Regions from separate parts of the Homo sapiens genome. Here region 1 is linked to region 2. The links are contacts of gene promoters, found by promoter capture Hi-C in human tissues and cell types (Jung and others, 2019). All regions are on one chromosome and are shown on one strand. Each heading gives the region's core, a stretch centred on a gene start or on the middle of the fragment in contact. The rest is flanking DNA. Distances are from core to core; before and after follow the strand shown. Region 1 overlaps SLC39A11 (solute carrier family 39 member 11). Region 2 holds the start of COG1 (component of oligomeric golgi complex 1).

Region 1 (6,557 bases), core at 2,345-4,844, 400 kb before region 2:
TTTGTGAGGCTCCAAGGTGTCAAGGAAGCACATGAAATTTCAGGCCTTAGAAAGTATGAGAGAGGAGGTGATAGAGCTAGCATTTGAACCCAAGCTCCTGTGCTCCAGAGTCCACGCTCTAGTTTTAAATCACAGTTCTATCCTGTCTCCCACTGTCTTTAATCAAGGCACACTGCACACCTCTGTAAGAACTGCCATGATCCCTCCTGGGTCAATATGCAGGCCAGGTCGCGGAGGCTGTGGGAGGTTAAGGTCAGGGGTCTTCCCCCACTGACTTAAATGCTCCTTTATATGGGGGTTGCATCTCCTTCACCAGCTCCTCCACACACCCCACTGGAAATTAATAAGGACATAAACACTGCCCATTGTGCGCAGCATGCACAAACACATTCATTCACTAGCATATGGCACTGACTCTTTTTGCAGAGACTATGTTAGGACCAGACACACAAAGATAACATCAAAACAAGGCTCAGGATGCTCCCTACTGCCGGCGGGGTGGGGGCGAGGGACAAAAATACAAACAGAGCATTTCGGGCAAATTACAAAAGGCTTTATATTCATTCCCAAGGTGTTTGGACTGCATCCTGGAGGCTCTGGTCAGTCAACAGAGGCCTGTAAGTCAGGGAGTGAGGAGCAGATTTGCCATTTTAGGAAGATAATTCTGGGGGATGGTGTGGGAAAAGCTAGAATGAGGATGGGCTTATGGCAAAGCACCAGACAAAGGCTATTGTACACCCTGAGACAGAGAAGCAGGATGATCAAAGAAGAGAGGCAGGGTCACAGATTCCCAGGGTGCCATGCAACAAGGGTGACAGACAGGTTTTGGCTGGCACATCTTAAGTCCTAGAGCTGAGAAAGCATTCTCCAGTTAGCCACAGACCCCACCCCTCCCTACTGTCTTTTATTAGCTGACTTGCTGTGTTTACATGAATTGCCTGGTACCCTAAGGTGTTTATGTTTGAAAGGGAGAGATTTTCTTTCTTTCATACAATGTATAACATGTGATGGCAGATTGGATTGCGTGGAATAGAGAAATAGACAGGGAGGAAAAGGACTAAGGGTACCAGATTTCTAGCTTTTAAGAGGGAAATGCTTCTTTTTTTAATTTTTTTTTAAAAACACAGAGATGGGGTCTCGCTATGTTACCCAGGCTGGTCTCAAACTCCTGGCCTCAAGCAATATTCCTGCCTCAGCCTCCCAAAGTGTTGGGATTACAGGCGTGAGCTGCCACACCCAGTCTGGAAAATGCCTCTTGATGTGCACATCGTTCTATCTGAATTAATGGAATACAGTGCCCAGAAAGGAAATGAATAACAATGATCAACAAATTCTGCTTCTCTAAGATTAAGGCTAGGGGAGTGTACCTTGGCAGTTGCAGAACCTGACTCCTGTATCCTTTCTCCCCCTTCACAGCAAGGCTGGGTTACAAATGACACAGCTGATACCACACCGGCCAGTATACAGAGAAGAACAAAGAGTCTTCAGGTTGAAAGAAAGCTTGAGGGACCCATAGTCCTGCCTCTAACTGTAATAACAGCCTTCAAAATCTAGGCCATTGTTAGCATCAGGCTCTGCCTGAGGTTTGTGGCATTCTCCTGAGAGAAGCTTTACCCATCCTGAGAAAATGAGATTTTGCACCTTGGAGCTGATGGGAACGCCTGGGAACAGTCACTGTACACAGCTCACAATGGGTCCCAGCACCTGCTCTCACCTAGAAAGGAAATTCAGAAGCTCCTGCTCATCACCATCACACAGTCCATGAGTACAAATCACCCATCATAAGAAAGGAGCTTGCTGGAGAAAAGGCAGCAAAGCCTTGGAGAATACAGCAGAGGCAACCAGCCCCCACCAAGCCAGCGAGCGCGGTGAGGACTCACACTGACTCCACAATCCTTCTGTTGGGTCCCAGCCAATCATTTTTCTAATTGAGTGAGAAAATCTGATAATATTGTTCCCCTGACTGAAGCCTTCGTTTCTTCTCATCACTCTAAAGATGAAGTGCAAAGTGCTTATCATGGTCCCCAAGGCCCCGGTGTCCTGTCCTCTGCCTATATCCCCAGCTGTGTCCAAGCCACTCCCTGCTCCCTCCTTCTCTACACTCAAACTGTCCAGTCCTCCCTTCTTTTCCTGCATCTCATTAGCACCTTACTTGTGCAGGGCTTTGTGTGTGCTATGCCCTTAGCCTGGGACACTCGCCTCCCTCTTCCCATCTCTTCACCTGGCCAATTTATTCTCTTCCTTCAAGTCCCAGGGTGACTTTCATTTCCTCCAGCAAGTGCCTCCTCTCTGCCCCTCTGAATTAATTATCTTTTGCTGTATAACAAGGTACCCAACATTTAGCAGCTCAAAACAACACACATTGACTATCTCACACTGTTTCTGTGGGTCAGGGATGGGGAAAGAAAGGCACAAGACCTGTCAACATCCACGACATTAGCATCCACACTGGATATGAGGGATGAATGCCACCAGAATTCTGAGGGCAGAGGACCTCCGACTGTGAAAGAAGATTCTATCCACAGTCAAGTTATCAGCCCAAAGTGAAGTTATGATAACATTTTCAGGTACGCAGAGTATCAAATAATTTATCTCCCTCATGCCCTGTATTAACAATCTACTGCTGTATAACATCTTCCCTGCAAATTTGGTGGCTCATACCAATAATCCTGTATGGTCTCAGTCTCTGAGACTCAGAATCCAGGAGGGGCTTAGCTGGATGGCCCTGGCTCGGGGTCTGTCATGAGGCTTCAGTCATGACAGTAGCCTGGGCTGTTGTCATCAGAAGGCTTGAGTGGGGCTGAAGGATCCACTTCCAAGCTCACCTGTGCAGCTGCTGGCTTGGAGTTTCAGTCCCTTGGCATCATAGGTTTGCCTTAAAGACACAGGGCTGCTGATAACATGGCAGCTGGCTTCCCACAGAGCAAGACATGACAGAGAAAGAGAGAGAGAGAGTGCAAGAGAGCAAGACAGTGATAGCACAACAGAGCAACCAAGATGGAAGCCACAGAGACTTCACTTGACCTCAACTCTAAGGTCGCACACCATCACTTTTGCTTTTTCCTATTTGTTAGAAGTGAACCACTGAGAAGTCTAGCACACACTGGAGAAGGAGAATTAGGCTCTATTGCTCTATTTCTTGAAGGGATGATATTAACAGATTTCTGGACATATTATTAAAACCACCCATCCTCCCAACAGAAGAGTTCAAAATTCCCTGTGAGGTGGCTCAGTGGTCATAGCACACCATGCCTCGGCTTCTTACTACTTGTCACAGAGGCAATTAACCAATTATGTGTGTAATCTGCAGGGTACTATCAGTCTCTCTTTCTAAATCCAAGGCTTCAGGAAGACAAGGACTATTATAAGCTATATCCCTGGTGAATAGCACACCATTTGGTATGTAACAGGGGCTCAAGAGATATTTATTGGATGAATAAGCAAATGAGCAAATAACAAATGAAAGAGGGAAGAATACTGGGGGGAGAAGAAATAGTATATAGAAAATGACTACAACAAAGAGGTCAAAATTGCAAGAATTTTTATACAGTGCAATGCTAAGATAATGAAATACAAATTCAGAGCAGCAGGCCAACCAGCCTCCATTTGCTAGGACTGCAGCTCACATACTCTGAGTTATGAGGATGAAGCCCTGGGCTGAGCCTCAGGCAGCAGGAAACTCCTTAGACTGGCTCAGCAGGCTGCTGGTAAAACAGAAAACCTATTTTCCAACACACGAGACAGAAGAGCCGGGAAGTCACATCTCCTTTATCAAGCGAGGCTTCTCTCATCGTCCTCTTGGTAGCGACAGGCTTCAAATCCACACACTCCCATCAACAGCACCCAGGGAAGCCAGCCAGTAGGTTTTTCCTGGCTTCTGCTGGTGGGGTCACTCTATATGCATGAGAAGGAGGGCTTTTTGCTGCGCTCCTATTCCCAAGACCACTGCTACAGATTCTTGGAAATACACCCTCCCCGTGGAGCTGGGCTTCCAGGATCAACCACACAGCAGTCTGAGCTTGGCCCCTGCAGGCACAGCCCAGGGCATGCCAGGTGAGGGGAAGGGCGAGTGGCAAAGGAGAACAGAGGGGAAAGGGAAGACAGAATCATGAGCAGAAAGCACGTTTCAACAGGCAGCTGAAAAAACGAGACCTAGGCCCTGGAGGGGGCACGCTGTGCCCAGAGCAAACCACACACACACAAATCCAGCAGCATCACCACCTCAAATTCGATGCTGACTTAGCACTGACTAAGTGCAATTCTCCCACCTCAGCCTCCTGAGTAGCTGGGATTACAGGCACCCACCACCACGCAGGGGTTTCACTGACATGCTCGATACTGTGAAGTGCTAAGTATGCAAGAAGATGTGACAACCCAGCCCTGATTTTCAAAGTTACCTGTGGGCATAACACACAGACGAAATGATGACCGAGAATGCAATACAAGGTGGCAAGTGCCAAAGAAGTGATGTGTACAGCATGTGTCAGAAGGGAGCTGTCCCTAGGATGGGGCCGTCCCTGAACTTTCCTGAGGGAGTCAGAGCTTGAACTTCGTGATTCCTGCAACAGTGTTGTAGCTTGAAAGTGCCTGTGTGTGAGGAGCGTGTATCTCACACATTGTTCCATGTTCAATGTGCCTAATACAAAACAAGAATCTACCTACAAGGGGTTTACCATCTTGCTGAGGATGTAAGACTTGTGCACAAATACCCGCCATCCAAAGCAGCTCAAGAGGCTATGCTAGTGTTAATAATAATAAATAATAGTAGCCATGTCCCTGAGGAATGCCAACCCATCTATTCTACTGCTGGAGGCAATACGGAGCCTCTGCAGGGCTCAGTGTCCACATCTGTGAAATGGGGTTGTAGGAACACTGACTAAGATAAGGAATAGAGTAACTACTGGCAGGTAAAGGCACTTGAGTGTCTCTCCTTCCTCCTCCTTCCATCTTCCATGAAGATGATCAGGCAAGAAGAAGGTAGCATTAGATGAGGGCTAATTTAAAAGATGGGGTACTGGCAAGGAAAGGCTCTATTTGCTTGGGGGAATAATGGAAGACAGGGCCAAGTAAAGGGTTGAGGAGGGCGAATTGACTGTGGTGCACACATTCTAATACCAGCAGCCTCATCTACCAAGCCAGGCACTTGACATGCACTACCTCGTCTAATACCCCACTAACTCACGGGATGCACACCATCGTGGCCCGGCTCTGCAGAGGATGGAGCTGAAGTTTAGGGATATCAAGTGTCCAATCTAAGCTCGCAGGTGGCACAGCCAGAACCTGGACCCAGATCCTTTATTCCAATGTGCTCATAACCACTTCCTAATGCTGCCTCTGGGGGATGCTTCGTGCTGGGGGGCACTGACCCATGAGGCTGAAGGGGAAGTCTAGAAGAAGGAGTTTGCATCTAGCATCTGGCAGCCTAGGAGTACATTTCCTATCACCCAGGGAGGCTATGTCTTGCTCTTGGTTTCTCTCTCATGCACTCATGGGAGTGACGAGAAAAGGAGAAAGGACAGACGTGACCACAGACTTAGTGAGTGCAGATGTTGGAAGGAGAGGGCTGGAATCATGCTGAGCCTTCCCGTTTGGGCACGTGGAGATGGGTGTATCACTAGGAGAAGTAGGGTTACTGGTGGGGAGGAGAGGAGGCAACTTCAGGTTATGTGTGTTGAGTGTGAAATGCCCCAGTATATTGAAATGTGTCTTAGTCTGCTCACGCTGTTATAACAAAGTACCACAGACGGAGGGGCTTAAATGACAGAAATGTGTAGAGCGGTTCTGGAGGCTGGAAGTCTGAGCTCAGTGTGCCAGCATGGTCATGTTCTTGGTGAGTAATCTTCAGGCTTGCAAAGAGCCACCTTCCACTGTGTCCTCACATGGTGAACAGAGAGAGAGACTGAGCTCTGGTCTCTTCCACTTCTTTCTTTCTTTTTTTTTTTTTGAGATGGAGCCTCACTCTGTTGCCCAGTCTGAAGTGCAATGGCACGATCTCAGCTCTCTGCAACCTCTGCCTTCCAGGTTCATGCAATTCTCCGACCTCAGCCTCCCGAGTAGCTGGGATTACAGGCACCCACCACCATGCAGGGGTTTCACCACGTTGGTCAGGCTGGTCTCGAAATTCTGACCTCAGGTGATCCACCCACCTTGGTCTCCCAAAGTGCTGGGATTACAGGCATGAACCACCACACCCAGCCTGTCCCACTTCTTATAAGAACACTAATCTCACCAAGGGGGCCCCACCCTCCTCACCTCATCTAAACCTAATCACCTCCCAAAGGCCCCTTCTCCAAATACCATCACACTGGGGGCTAAGGCTTCACAATATGAATGGGTGAGGGACACAAGCATTCAGTCCAGAGCAAACTGTCAGCATCTAGCTGGGGGAGGAAAATCATGAGTGGCATCTTTGGGAAGGAAGGCAGGCCCAGATGTAGAGAATTGAGAAGAGAGCTGAAAATCTGAGAGGGCACAAGAAGGCCAAAGATAGGGAGAAGAAGAGGACCATGGGTTGGTGGAGGAGGGGAGAGGAGCTGGCAAGGTTTTGACTTGTGCAC
Region 2 (6,619 bases), core at 2,294-4,793:
CTGTGGCAGCTGAGGTCTTTGCCCCTGATCCGTGGTTTTGATGGTCCCAGCTGATATGCAGAAGGCAGAGGAAGGGGGTGGTGCTGTCCTGGGAGGCAGAGGACAAGGAAAGGAGCCATGGAGAGGAAAGAGTTAAAGACACATTTCCTCCAGGGCCAGGAGCTTTTCCAGTGACCAGGCAGTCAGGTGACAGCTTCTGTCAGTGCTCAGTTCTGCAGGCAGAGGAACAACAGTGGCATCTTCAGGCCAGTCAGATGAACTTGGCCAGGGAAATACAGAGGAAAGGCAGGGAACACCCTGATTTCAAACCACACTCTGGACTAGGTGAGGTGGCTCACACCTGTAACCCGAGCACTTTGGGAGGCTGAGGTGGGAGGATCCCTCTAGCCCAAGAGTTTGAGACCAGCCTGGGCAACAGAGTGAGGCCCTGTCTTTACACAAAAATTAAAAAATTAGCCGGGCATGGTGGTGCACACCTGTTAATCCCAGCTACTAGGGAGGCAGAGGTGGGAGGATTGCTTGAGCCCAAGAGGTGGAGGCTTCAGTGAGCCGTGATTGCACCCCTGCACTCCAGCCTGGGCAACAGTGAGACCCTGTCTCAGAACACACACAAACACACACAGACACACACACACACTGCAGTGTTGACAGCTGGCCAGTTTGTCTTTTCTCTACCTGACTCAGAACACACACACACACACACACACACACACACACACACACTGCAGTGTTGACAGCTGGCCAGTTTGTCTTTTCTCTACCTGAGCTTACAGGTATTGTGCACAAGCGCAAGGACCATCCCATACAAAGCCCTGGGCCCCCCACTATCCCTGATATGTTGACATTTCTCCCCTTGCTGTAAGAAAGGCTTCAACCAAACTCTCATGGAGCTGGAACCTTAGTGCAGTGTATATCAGTTAGGGCTAGGGCAAACCAGGGAAACCGATTTTGATTTTCAAAGAAACAAAATTGATCAGTAAGACACTGCACAGTTCATAGAATCTCTGGGAAAGATGGGGAGGCAGGTTCAGGGGACAGGCAGGAAGGAAGGAAGGGAAACAGAACATTTAAAACCTAGACGAGCACACCACATGGTGATTCTGTCGAGGACGTCATTGTGGGTGCCCACGGCTGCCACCAGCACCACCGCCAGCATTAGCAGCTGGGAGCTGGAGCTAAGTTCACTGCCCTTGCTGTCCTTAGGGAGTGGATGTTGCCGGTGATACCTGTGCCACCACCAAAATGCAATCGCCCCTGTCACCTGCGATTTTTTTTTTTTTTTTTTTTTGAGACAGGGTCTTGTTCTGTTGTCTAGGCTGGAATGCAGTGGCCCAATCATGGCTCACTGACGCAGTCTCGACCTCCAGAGGCTCAAGTGATCCTCTTGCCTCACTTGCCTCTTGTCAAGTGGCTGGGACTACAGGTCCACAGGCCCACACCACTACTCCCGGCTAATTTTCTTTTTCTTTTTTTTTTTGAGACGGAGCCTCACTCTGTCGCTCAGGCTGGAGTGCAGTGTCTCGATCTCGGCTCACTGCAACCTCCGTCTCCCAGGTTCAAGTGATTCTCCTGCCTCAGCTTCCTGTCTGCTGCCTCAGCCTCCCGAGTAGCTGGGATTATAGATGTGCGCCACCACGCCCAGCTAATTTTTGTATTTTTAGTAGAGACAGGGTATCACCATGTTGGCCAGGCTGGTCTCGAACTCCTGACCTCATGTGATCCGCCTGCCTCGGCCTCCCAAAGTGCTGGGATTACAGGCATGAGCCACCCGGCGCGCGCCCCTTTTTTTGTATTTTTTTGTAAGGACGGGGTTTGGCCGTGTTGCCCAGGCTGGTCTTGAACTCCTGGGCTCAAGGGATCCACACGCCTTGGGCTCCCAAAGTGCTGGGATTACAGCCTGCTTCTTAATGTCACTAACTCTTCACCCAAGTCCTAGGCGCTTGTGCCTGCTGTGCCAGTCCCAGGCCGCAGGCTGGCACCGTAGCTATAAAGGGCGCCAGAAAAAAAGATTTTGCTAGATAGCGATGAATTCCCCAATCACAGAAAGGAGATACTGCGGATGCTTATCAGCCGAATACCAGTAAGTGTCCCTTGCAGAATGGGATTAGAGACTGCAAACTGCAGGCCTGCCAACAGAGGGTGCTCTGTGGGAAATTATGTGAAAACGTAGAAAAGAGCGCGAGCCAGTAATTTAAAAATCGACGTCCAAATACTCACTGGGTCACCTATCAGCTATGTAATTTGGGCAGGTAAATAAGCTTTTGTTTCTTTTTTTTTTTTCCTCATAAATGGACTAGGAATATTACTCCTACCTACCTGGCATGGCCGATGTGCGAGAAAATGAGATAATCTCGTGGACAGGCTCTGAAAACTGCACTTTTACTGAGTAAAAAACCCTTTGCCTCTCCGGGCCCCCGTTTCCCCATCTGTAAAATGAGTCTGTAAAGTGAGAATGATACTCCCTACGCCGCAAGGCTCTTGCGGGTTAAACTGGAATATTATAAATGCACCATTTATTTGCAGATTGAAATTCTGTGCGTCCGGAGGTGGCGGGTGGGAGAGGGAATGAGCAGGGATGCAGGGTAGGCCCTGAGTTGCTGGGGGCTCAGCATGGCCGCTGCGCACATTGCATCATTTTGTCGACACTGGTGTGGGTGAAATCTTCCAAAAGAAATTAAAACAGAAAAAAAAAAAAAGAAGGGTCTGGGACTTAGCAGAAACAAGCCACAATCTCCAGATTCTACTATTCCTGGGCCACGTGAGGAGCGCCCACCCGTCTGGCGCTGCGTTCCCCGGGGCGTCCCAGCCTCTCCCGCCCAGCCCGCCGCCCTCCTCCCCCATGGCCACCAAGGTCAGGCTCTCGCAGGGAAAACGTCTTCAGGGGCTAAACATCGGTTTTAAACGAAATGGAAAACCTCCAACACGAATCAACAGCAGAGGAAAAGCAGACGCCAAACAAGCGCTCAGAACCCCTTCAGGGGCGGCGTGGTAGCTCTTCCCGGGGAACAGCGAGGGGCGCGGATGTCCCTCTTCCTAAAACTGCACGCGGGGTGCGATCCGAGACCCAGCGGCGGCGAGCGCGCCCGAGTCTGCTCGCGGGCGCCAGGCGCGCGGAGAGCGGCGGCTGCGCCTGCGCCAACGCCGTCAGTCCGCGGGGCCCGATCCCGACACCTAACTCCACAGAGAAGCTCTGCTCCTAAGGGAAAGGGAAGACTTCAGCCACAGTTTCGCAGCCAACCTGGCGACCTCACCTCTCTGGCGACCTCACTTCCCAGCCGGCTCCGTTTAAGAAAACCCCGCGCAGGACCGCGCCCGCCCCCGCGCCCGCGCCCGCCCCCGCCCCCTCGCGCCCGCCCCCTCGCGCCCGCCCCCTCGCGCCCGCCCCCTCGCGCCCGCCCCCTCGCGCCCGCCCCCTCGCGCCCGCCCCCTCGCGCCCGCCCCCTCGGGTAACAAACATGGCCCCCGGCGGGGCGGAAGCGCTTCCGCCCCCAACGAAGATGGCGGAGGGGGCGGGACTAAAAGGGCGTAGGTAGATCGCCGGGGGCTGACGAGTGCACCATGGCCACCGCGGCAACCTCACCCGCGCTGAAGCGGCTGGATCTGCGCGACCCTGCGGCTCTTTTCGAGACGCATGGAGCGGAGGAGATCCGCGGGCTGGAGCGCCAGGTTCGGGCCGAGATCGAGCACAAGAAGGAGGAGCTGCGGCAGATGGTGGGCGAACGGTACCGCGACCTGATCGAGGCGGCCGACACCATCGGCCAGATGCGCCGCTGCGCCGTGGGGCTAGTGGACGCCGTGAAGGCCACCGACCAGTACTGCGCCCGCCTCCGCCAGGCCGGCTCGGCCGCGCCCCGGCCACCGCGGGCCCAGCAGGTCAGTCCCCGTGCCCCCACCCTGCGACCCGCAGGCGGGTCCCGGAGCCCCTGGCCTTGCAGGTCAACCCCGCCCCCCTCTGTCAGTCCCAGACCCCGCGAGTCCTCACCTTCCTTAGCCAGGAGCCTATCCGCCCCTCACCCTTTGGGCCCCCCTCAGAGGACAGTGCCAGCCTTCCTTGCACATATGCGGCTGCTGATCCGTTCTGGAAATGCCATTCAACAGTTTCTTCAGGCGCTTTCCCCCGACTTCCGGGCCTTGATTCCTACACCTCACTGGGCTCCTTTCAATTTTAGCGGAAAACGCCAGGAGTTTCTGTCTTGACAGTTCAACGCTCACCTATATAACATGTCCTGACATTGTTTTTCCTCAGGTTTCTCCCCTATGTTGACACCTGCACTCCAAGTCATTTCTTCCTCATCCCAACCTTCCCCTTATCTCCCCAAGAATAACTTCCACAACCCCAAATAGCTGTTCTACCCTTTGGGAGTTGTTGAGGGTACCAGCTATCAAGCCCTTAACTTTATGTATGTATGTGACAGGGTCTCCCAAAGTGCTGGGATTACAGTCATGAGCCACCACAGCCGGCCAAGCCCTTACCTTTTAATAGCTGAACATTTTCATTTTCAGAACTAAGGCTTTTTTCATTCAGGTTCTCCTTATCCCGTGTTCTTCCCCCCAAACGCTATTGATTAGACACAATGAGGAAGGATGGGAGGTAAACAAACACATCCTCATATTGGAGCTGCAGCTTGCGTTCCTAAAGAATTTTTATTGGCCGGGTGCGGTGGCTCACGCCTGTAATCCCAGCACTTTGGGAGGCCGAGGCGGGTGGATCACGAGGTCAGGAGATCCAGACCATCCTGGCTAACACGGTGAAACCCCGTCTCTACTAAAAATACACAAAATTAGCCAGGCGTGGTGGCCGGCGCCTGTAGTCCCAGCTACCTGGGAGGCTGAGGCAGGAGAATGGCATGAACCCGGGAGGCGGAGCTTGCAGTGAGCCGAGATCGCGCCACTGCACTCCAGCCTGGGCCACAGAGCGAGACTCTGTCTCAAAAAAAAAAAAAAAAAGAATTTTTATTTCTTTATTTTTTGAGACAGGATCTCGCTCTGTCACCCAGGCTGGAGTGCAGTGGCGCGATCTCGGCTCACTGCAACCTCCGCCTCCCGGGTTCAAGCGATTCTCCTGCCTCAGCCACCCGCGTAGCTGGGATTACAGGCACCTGCCACCATGTCCGACTAATTTTTGTACTTTCAGTAGAGACGGGGTTTCACCATATTGGCCCGGCTGGTCTCCAACCCCTGACCTCATGTGATCTGCCTGCCTTGGCCTCCCAAAGTGATGGGATTACAGGCGCGAGAGCCACCGCGCACGGCCCCTTAAAGAATATAGACCTAGCAATGAACGAAGTGAAAGGGCATGAAGGGTGAAAAAGGTAAACAGTTAGTTGTTTTTAACAGCCTGGGAGAACTTACTGGGACATAGAAGAAAAAATTGAAAAGTACAGTCTAACTCCAATTTGGAACTTGTTCATGCTATCTGAGCTTTACAGAAATCCTGGTCAGTAGACTGGACTGACACAATAAAACTATAGGAAGTTGCAAATAAGTTTGCATATTTTTGAAATGAGTGACCTCATCCCTCCCAAAGCTAACATTTAGTACACGTGTCCCCTTAGGTGGCCAGCCTTTGCTGTAACTGAGTCATGCTTCAGGGTTTATTAAAACGCTAACTTGAATTATGCCTGATTTTAGAAACGTATTGATTTTCATAGTTGTTATATCTGGTTTATTCTCGGTTAACCCTACAAAAATTTGAGTGTCTTCTTCGTTCACATTACAAAGAAACAGAAGTCCCCCAATTCCTGCTCTGAAGGAGCTTACAACCTGGTCGAGGAAATAAATCCATGGAAACTTGACGAGAAAAAAATGTAAAAAAATTTAGAATAACAGGTCAGGCGCTGTGGCTCATGCCAGCACTTTGGGAGGCCAAGGCAGGTGGATTGCTTGATCACAGGAGTTTGAAACCAACCTGGGCAACACGGTGAAACACCATCTCTACAAAAAATACCAAAAAGTGAGCGGGCATGGTGGCACATGCCTGTGGTCCCAGCTACTTGGAAGGCTGAAGTGGGAAGATCTCTTGAGCCCAAGAGGTCAAGGCTGCAGTGAGCCATGATCGCACCACTGCACCCCAGCCTGGGCAACAAAGTGAGATGCTGTCCCAAAAAAAAAAAAAAAAAAGGCTGGGCGCGGTGGCTCAGGCCTGTTATCCCAGCACTTTGGGAGGCTGAGGCGGTGGATCACTTGAGGTCAGGAGTTTGAGACCAGCCTGGCCAACATGGTAAAACCCTGTCTCTACTGAAAATACAAAAATTAGCCAGGCGTGGCGACACGCACCTGCGATCCCAGCTACTCAGGAGGCTGAGGCAGGAGAATCACTGGAACCCGGGATGTTTGATTCCCAAAATAATTGTGTATATTTACCCTAGGAGTTCTGAAGGAAGTCAGTTTAGGCTTGGGTTGTTCTTAGTAAGGAGGGACCTTAAGGGCATGATGAGATTTGGAATTTAGGTTTCTTAGTCCATTTGTGCTGCCATAACAAAATACCTGAGATTGGGCAATTTATAACACAAGTGTATTTTTCACAGTTGTGGGTCTGGGAAGTCCAAGATTAAGGCACTGGCCTTTGATGTCTGGTGAGGGCCTTCTTGCTGTATCCTCACGTGGGGGAAGGTAGAAG

The links. Contacts are between HindIII fragments. The study calls those that stand out against the background at their distance.
Region 1: a contact is called between a fragment that was not itself captured here and the fragment with the promoter of COG1 in region 2, in 2 of the 25 tissues and cell types used here (mesendoderm cells and thymus).

The regions. Positions count from the first base shown.
Region 1 is chr17:72,792,488-72,799,044 of GRCh38, forward strand. The region is part of intron 6 of SLC39A11 (solute carrier family 39 member 11); the gene reads right to left. Among named protein-coding and RNA genes, the nearest start is that of LINC00511, 160 kb to the left of the region's middle. The HindIII fragment of the contact is 7,264 bases long and covers 1-6,557 here.
Region 2 is chr17:73,189,512-73,196,130 of GRCh38, forward strand. It overlaps COG1 (component of oligomeric golgi complex 1), which reads left to right and starts at 3,544. Exons shown (of 14, transcript NM_018714.3): 1 at 3,544-3,873. The coding sequence starts at 3,559. RefSeq lists enhancers at 2,771-3,530, 2,816-2,865, 3,496-3,775 and a silencer at 3,826-4,035. The HindIII fragment of the contact is 14,916 bases long and covers 1-6,619 here.